Linked DNA regions of Homo sapiens: region 1 is linked to region 2. Evidence: promoter capture Hi-C in 16 types of primary human blood cells and fetal thymus (Javierre and others, 2016). All regions are on one chromosome and are shown on one strand. Each heading gives the region's core, a stretch centred on a gene start or on the middle of the fragment in contact. The rest is flanking DNA. Distances are from core to core; before and after follow the strand shown.

Region 1 (3,763 bases), core at 301-2,800, 1.2 Mb after region 2:
GGAGGCTGAGGTGGGAGGATCACTTCAGCCCAGGAGTTCAAGACTGCAGTGAGCTATGATCCTGCCACTGCACTCCAGCTTGGGCAACAGACCAAGACCCCATCTCTTAAAAAATAAAAATAAAAATAAAAAAATTATTTGCCAGGCCAACTAAAATTTCAGTGAAGCTGGATATATACCATGGCAAATTGGCTGTAACAGGTCAAACAAGATGCCTCCTTCCTGGGGAATTCATGCACTTATAAAAGAGCAAGGGAGCAAGAGGAAAAAGGAGAAAGAAAGAAAACTTCAGCTGCTTACAAACTGAAAAGCTTAGAGAGTGCAACAGGAATATTATCTAGTATTCCGCTTCTGCTAGATTCCCACTTTCTAGGGCCTGCTTTTATAAAGCATTACACAAAAACAGGGACCATTTCCTTCAGGGACAGGAGTGAATGCAAAGGGTAACCGGACCTAACTAAATGGACTTTTCCCCAGTGGCTCAGCCCATCACCCACGACAAATGGGGCATTGAAACAGTCAAGGACTGCCCCTTCCAACTGGCAACAGAAATACCTGGATTCCAATCACCATGCTATTACACCAGGAAAACACAAGCTCTCCAGGGAGATGAACCTGCAACCCCATCTATTATTTCCCCTGCTAAGGTAATCCGGATCCGGATGCAGATCCAGATGGAAAACCACTAGAAATTCAAAGATGCTTCTCCATTTGGGGTGGAGGTGCTGGGGGGAGGGCAGGGAAGTAAGAGGGAAAAATCCTTAAACACCCACAAATACAATGCAAAAAAAAATTTTTTTAACTTGATACAGAATGAATATAAGAGCAGAGCTTTTATATTTCCCAGCAACAAGATATGACGCTTTTGGTGTCCCTACCCCCTAGCAAAAAAAGGGAGCTGGGGAAAAGGAACGATTGATGGTTATGAAACATGAAAGTTAACTGGGCGCTCCGCCTTGACGGGAGGCTTGGGGGAGAGGAAGAGATTTCAGATGGGGATGAGGCCAGATCCCGACATTCTGAGCTCACAGTCAGCCCGCAATGGCTGGTGGCGGCTATCGGGTCAAAGTGGGAAGGAGAGGGAGAATCTATGCAGTCGCCTAAGCTACGGAAAGCAGGGAGGACGGAGAAAAGCCACCGCTCCTGCAACTACAACCGCGATTCCAAAAGGAAACCGGGGCACCTTGGCAAAAAATGGGGGGAAAAATTAAAAAAACCCCACAAACCCCCCGCCCCTCAGGAAGAGCGATCTGCGATTGGGCCGCGCGAGTGTCACTCAAGGGCGCCGAGTCTAGAAAAGGCGCACCGCGGCCGGGCAGAGCTCCCACACGCCGAAGGGCTCCGAGGGGGTCAGGCCAATCGGCAGCCGTCACCCCACACCCCAGCCCATCACCACACTCAAGGGGCCGCTAAGACAGTGTCTCCTAAGTCTCGTCTCCTGTCCCCAGCGGCCTACAGCTCCCTGCAGGCTGGTGGCCGCTTACCTGGCCGCCGCTCCCGCTGCCGATGTCAGGGTCATGCAAGCGGCCTCTCGCGACCGTTACCCGAGGGAGCGCGCGCGCGCCCGGCGTCTCTCCAGTGATTGGCTGCCCGGAAGGAGGCGGAGACAGCCTCGCATGGCGCGCGCGTCCACCTCGCCGTTCCCCCTCGCGCAGCTCCAACCAAAGAGAGACATCCAACCCCGGGGGAGTGACAAGGGGGCGGGATTGCTGTGAAACTCTCTTCTCTGATTGGCTCTCTGGGAGCCAGCCGCTGCCACGAGGGAAAGAAGCTTCAGTTTCTCGCATGCGCAGTGAGTAAACATGAGCCTCTGGTAGATAAGAGAAACCGCGATCGGAGTACGGCGCGTGCGCAGATCAGGGATCGCGATTGCGAATCCTCCGCTGAGGTGATTTGGATATCCCTAGAACGTTGAGGGCACGAGTCGGGTCCTGAGACCAGGTAAGCATCTGCGGAGAAGCCAGGTAACCCTACGGCTGCCGACGACTGTCAAAGGCTCCGGAGAGAGGACTGCGAGCCGGGACGCCTGGGTTTTTCCCGACTTGCGACCCCGAGTGGCGCAGCCAGTTTACCTGAGGCCGCGCTGGCGGTGGGGTGGGGCCGGCCGTGACACCCGAGCTCAGTTTTCTCGGGACCTGGTTTACGCTAGGTGCTGTGGGTCGGCCCTGGGGCTGTTCAGGCACTCAGGGCAGGGGAGAGGAGAGACTACCGTCCTGGAGATAACGGTTCCACGGAGGCCCAAGGCGAAACGGAAGGATCCTCATGTACAAAACTGAGCGGAATGGAGCTGTGAGCACGCATCAGGTGCTGTTTCAGGCCTGGCACGTAGTAGAGGTCAGCACTGCCCTTGCTAGGCTTTTGCGGAGATACTCGTTTTTTTTTTAATAGACGTGGGGTGGGGGGGTCTCACTGTGTTGCCCAAGCTGATCTCGAACTCCTGGCCTCAAGCGATCCTCCTTCCTCGGCCTCCCAAAGTGCTGGGATCACAGGCGCAAGCCACCCAGCCCTACTTTTGAAGGACCAAAGGGAACTCGCTCTCCTCCCCGTGGGACCCCAGCCCATTTCATGCGCACTGTGCAGGCCACATTCTTCAGCATAGTTAACCTTTAAGGTCTTTCCAGCTACTCGATTTACCTCCAGGAGTTCTGGCTCACAGTAAAGGGACTTCCCTGGCACTATCACTTAGGCCTCCACAACCCAGGAAATGGATCTGCCCTTGGAATAACAGATCTGCCAGGAGGCGTTACATCTCATTGGAGCTTCCTAAGTATACCTACCAATTTTTTTTTACTTTTTTTATTTTTGTGGGGGAGGGGGGTAGGGGGGACAAGGTCTCTCTCTGTCACCCAGGCTGGAGGGCAGTGGCGCGATCTCGGCTCACTTTAACCTCTGCCTCCCGGGTTCAAGTGATTCTTCTGCTTCAGCCTCCCGAGTAGCCGGGAATACCGGTGCCCGCCACCACATCCGGCTAATTTTTTGTATTTTTAGTAGAGACGGGGTTTTGCCATATTGGCCAGGCTGGTCTCGAATTCCTGACCTCAGGTCATCCTCCTGCCTCGGCCACCCAAAGTGCTGGGATTACAGGCATGAGCCACCACGCCTGGCAATTTTCAAAGGGTAAATTTGATGTTATCCTATCTTTCATGATTTTTTAAATTATATTACATAATTCCAAAAGATATTTTATGTTTAAACCAGGACTTACTTCATTGAAGATGGTTTTATCTTTCAGTGTGAACCTGCTGGGAAGTCAGGCTATATTTTTGGCATCACAGTGATCTCCTTAGTACCTGATTTCACAGACCAGAATTATGATCCCACCAAATAACATGTTTTCAGTAATGTCATGGCTTATCAAGTACTTCTTAAATTGGACCATACCAAGTAAAATAATTTACAAGCCACTGTTGTAGATGCCTTTTCACCCTAAGCTCTAAAACAAAGGCCGATGAAATAATCAGTTCCCAGACTGGGTTTGTGTCATAAGACAACAGTGTATGTGGTGTGTCATTCCAAAGTTCCTCAGCCTTGTAGTTGAGAGATCTGACATGCTCCCATTTAGTGACCACTAAGTACTTTACATTTATGGCAACATGTATGATTTTGTTCGCACTCTAGGTAGTAGTATCTCCATTCTACAGATGAGGAATTAGAGCCAAAGTTACCCAGTAAGTAAATTGTGGCATTGAGACATTGAACGCAGGTCTGTTGGCCACAGAGCTCGCAATCCTTGGCAGGAAGGCCTTTTTGGGACAAAAGAAAA
Region 2 (3,804 bases), core at 1,157-3,656:
ACTCGGGAGACTGAGGTGGGAGGATAGCTTGGGCAGGGGAGGTTGAGGCTACAGTGAGCCACGATCACACCAATGTGACACAGTGAGACCCTGTCTCAAAAAAAAAAAAAAAGAAAGAAAATATAGGTAAACACAAAGACAAAAAAGCAGGGCATGGTGGCTCACACCTGTAATTCTAGCACCTTGGGAGGCTGAGGCAGGAGGATCACTTGAGGTCAGGAACTCGAGACGAGACCAGGCTGGGCAGCATGGCGAGACCCCATCTCTATAAAAAGTACAAAAATTAGCAGGGCACGGTGGTGTGCACCTGTGGTCCTGCTACTTGGGAAGTTGAGGTGGGAGGATCACCTGAGCCCTGGAGGTTGAGGGTGCTGTGAGCCATGATGGCACCACTCCACTCCAGTCCAGGTGAAAGAGCCAGATCCTGTCTCAAAAAAAAAAAAAAAAAAAAGTGGCTGGGCATGTAAACTTACCAAGGACCAAGGAGACAAGTCTTGAGAGAAAGGAAGGCAACTCAAAGGATGGACTTTTAAACACTTGTAACCAGCATTGGGAACAGTAGTAGGTTGAAGAGGGAAATCTAGAACTCATGCCTGAAAACTGCCAGTCATCCAGCCCATTTTTCCATACAGACATTTGGAAATAAGTTAATGGAGCCATTTTGGTGAGAGCCCTCTGTTCCCTTCAGGAGGCCTTTGTCAGGAAGAGGGTGGGGCAGGGGACTCACCCCCCACTCAAATCTGGAACTGAAACCAGCTTCAAAGCCGAGTGCAGAGCCAGCGCGGTGGCTCATGCCTGTCATCCCAGCACTTTGGGAGTCCAAGGCAGGCCTCACTTGAGGTCAGGAGTTCCAGACCGGCCTGGCCAACATGGTGATTGCACCACTGCGCTACAGCCTTGGGTGACAGAGCAAGACTCTGTCTCAAAAAACAAAACAACAATAAAACAAAGCAGAGTGCAGGAGTGGCTGTGGACTCTGGACGCCCTGCTAGGATTAGGATGGGTGTTCCTGGCTCATGGGCCTCACTGGCTCTTCTGATGCCCTGCCACCCCCACCCCAGACTGGCTTTGAGCCCCGGAAACCTTGACAGCTTTCTAGAGGTGTCTGTCAGTTAGGTTGTGCCACGCGAAGTTGCCGTTTCTGCAGGTCAAATAGTGGTGGACTATTGGCAATTTCTAGGCACCTCTGGTCTGGTTGATCCAAATCCTCCAACCTGTGGCACATTTATTTAGCGCTCATTTTGTGCCAGCCTGCCTGCTAAGCAACTTATAGCCATTTTTATTTGTATTTATTTTTCTTTTTGAGACAGGGCCTCGCTCTGTCGCCCAGGCTAGAGTGCAATGGCGCAATCTCGGCTCACTGCAACCTCCACCTCCCGGATTCAAGCGATTCTCCTGCCTCAGCCTCCCGAGTAGCTGGGATTACAGGGGTGCACCACTACGACCGGCTAATTTTTGTTATTTTTAGTAGAGACAGGGTTTCACCGTGTTGGCCTGGCTGGTCTTGAACTTCTGGCCTCAAGTGATCCACCCGCCTCGGCCTCCAAAAGTGCTAGGATTACAGGCATGAGCCACCGCGCCCCACTATAGCCATTTTTAAACTGTCCCAAGTTTCTGAGGAAACGGAATTGTTCACCATTTGACAGAGAAGAAAACTCTGGCTCAGATACTCCCCTTTTAGAATTGTTTCGGGGGCTGGCTCGTCCGTCAAACTTTAAAAAAATAACAACAGCATGCTGAGTTGAAGTTAAAAGAGCTGGGGTCTGGAGGTCGCTGGGCTCAGGGGCGCTGCCACTCAACAGCTGCGCCGAGCTGGGGACGCGCAGGGGAAGCAAGTTCCCAGCTCTGTGGACTCCAGGTCTGAGAAAAATCCTGTCGGTATTCAGCCACCCAGTGTTCCCATCAATACGATGAGAATAATGAGGACAATAGCCACCACGTCCGGCAAACTCAGGCGTGAGCTGCGAGGACTCGGTACCGCCCGGCAGGGAAAAAGCAGGGCCTGGAGGCCGAGGAGCCCCACCCGCACCCACCACGTGGAGCCGGCCGGGCCTGCGGCGAAGCCACAGGGCGACTCCCGGGGCGCGGAGCGGGGCGGGGGCGGGACTAGCACGGCCCCACTCTGCCGACGCCTCTCCCAGGTCGCGACACCGGCGAGCCGCTCCGCCCGGCCACCGTGTCCCTCAGCACCCACGGACGCCGGGAGAGGAGGAGGTGGCGAGGGGCACGGCCGGGAGGCGTGGCCTCCGCTTCCCCTTTTTTTTTTTTTTTGGTCCGCCTAGCTAAGGAAAGGTTCCCCTGCGCCTTTAAGAGGCCGACGCGGGCAGCCGATTGGCCCAGACGCCTCGGTGACGTCACGCCGGGGCCGGAGCCCTCCCCCTCCCGCCGCGCCGCGCGCTCGCGGACAGTCGGCGCGCGGGCCGGGCCGGGCCGGCGCCCCTCTGCCTCGCGCGCTTGTCGCGTTGCCCCGGGCTCCGGGGGATGCCCCCGGCCGAGCCCTTCTCATGGCCGCCGACGTCTTCATGTGCTCCCCGCGCCGGCCTCGCAGCCGGGGCCGCCAGGTGCTGCTCAAGCCCCAGGTGTCCGAGGACGACGACGACTCGGACACGGATGAGCCGTCCCCGCCGCCCGCCTCCGGCGCGGCCACCCCGGCCCGGGCCCACGCGAGCGCCGCGCCACCGCCGCCTCGGGCCGGGCCGGGCCGCGAGGAACCTCCGCGCCGCCAGCAGATCATCCACAGCGGCCACTTCATGGTGTCGTCGCCGCACCGAGAGCACCCGCCCAAGAAGGGCTACGATTTCGACACGGTCAACAAACAGACGTGCCAGACCTACAGCTTCGGCAAGACTAGCTCCTGCCACCTGTCCATCGACGCCTCGCTCACCAAGCTCTTCGAGTGCATGACTTTGGCCTACAGGTAGGGACCCCCGCGACCCCCTGAGGCCCCGGCCGGAGGCCCTTGTTTGACAAAACAAGCGTGGAGGGAAGGGCCGCCTGGCAACCCCGTGGCTTCATGCATTCCCTTTGGGTCTTCCTCCTTCGGGAGGGTTTATGGATCTGGGGTTCCCCGCGTTGCCAGAGGAGCCGGGGTCCTGGCCTCTTCCCCTGCCAGCAGTGCCGGGGTCCTTTCGGGTTCACGTTCCCCATCCAGGCCCTCCCCTCCAGTGTCCTGGGACCACCGATGTTGGACGAGGAAGAGGTATAAACACTGGCTGCATCTTGTGTTACCCGACTCTATCGACTCCTTCCTCCAAACGCTTTGTGTGTTTCCCCCATATCCAGCAGCGGTCAGGACCACCTGTTCGGGGTGACTGGAGGCTGGCTCTGCTGTTTAATGGTTGTGTAACACCTCGGAGCCTGTTTCCTCCTTTATAAAAGGGGAATGACTGTAGTGTCTGCCTCCAAGGGGCTGTTGTGGGGATGGAGTGAGATAGGTAAATTGCTTATTCCAGTGCTTGGCCAGAGTTAGGTGTCCCTGCACCTGGAGGCTGGCCCCCTTACAACCTCATCGGGAGGCCCGCCCCCATCTCGGGAGGGCTTTGGGTGCCTCCTAAGAAGACTTTTGGTGCCACAGCTGTTGGAGGTGCAGTCTGTCCTTCTGGCAAGTTGGAGGGTTTTCTGGCCGGTCCTGAAACATTATATGAGGGAGATGTCATTGTTGAGGGCAGACATCCCAGACACCGTTCTGACATGTGGATTCGGCTCTGGGCAGAGATTCCTCTTTTCCAAGTCACAGAAAATGCCTGGCCCTCAAAGATTAAAGCGCTTTTTCACTCTCTCTCCCTTTCCCACTATGAATATTAG

What was found. The method cuts DNA at HindIII sites, captures the fragments that hold promoters and counts their contacts. A CHiCAGO score of 5 or more calls a contact.
Region 1: the fragment with the promoter of MPHOSPH9 here is called in contact with the fragment with the promoter of MLXIP in region 2 in 1 of 17 cell types (erythroblasts); the score reaches 5.2 in erythroblasts.

Annotation. Positions count from the first base shown.
Region 1 is chr12:123,231,591-123,235,353 of GRCh38, forward strand. MPHOSPH9 (M-phase phosphoprotein 9) reads right to left here and starts at 1,551. Exons shown (of 24, transcript NM_022782.4): 1 at 1,485-1,551. It overlaps MTRFR (mitochondrial translation release factor in rescue), which reads left to right and starts at 1,846. Exons shown (of 3, transcript NM_152269.5): 1 at 1,846-1,941. RefSeq lists an enhancer at 1,324-1,563. The HindIII fragment of the contact is 1,460 bases long and covers 310-1,769 here.
Region 2 is chr12:122,076,350-122,080,153 of GRCh38, forward strand. MLXIP (MLX interacting protein) reads left to right here and starts at 2,407. Exons shown (of 17, transcript NM_014938.6): 1 at 2,407-2,917. The coding sequence starts at 2,505. RefSeq lists enhancers at 633-682, 2,750-2,989 and silencers at 1,950-2,229, 2,240-2,689. The HindIII fragment of the contact is 7,442 bases long and covers 1-3,804 here.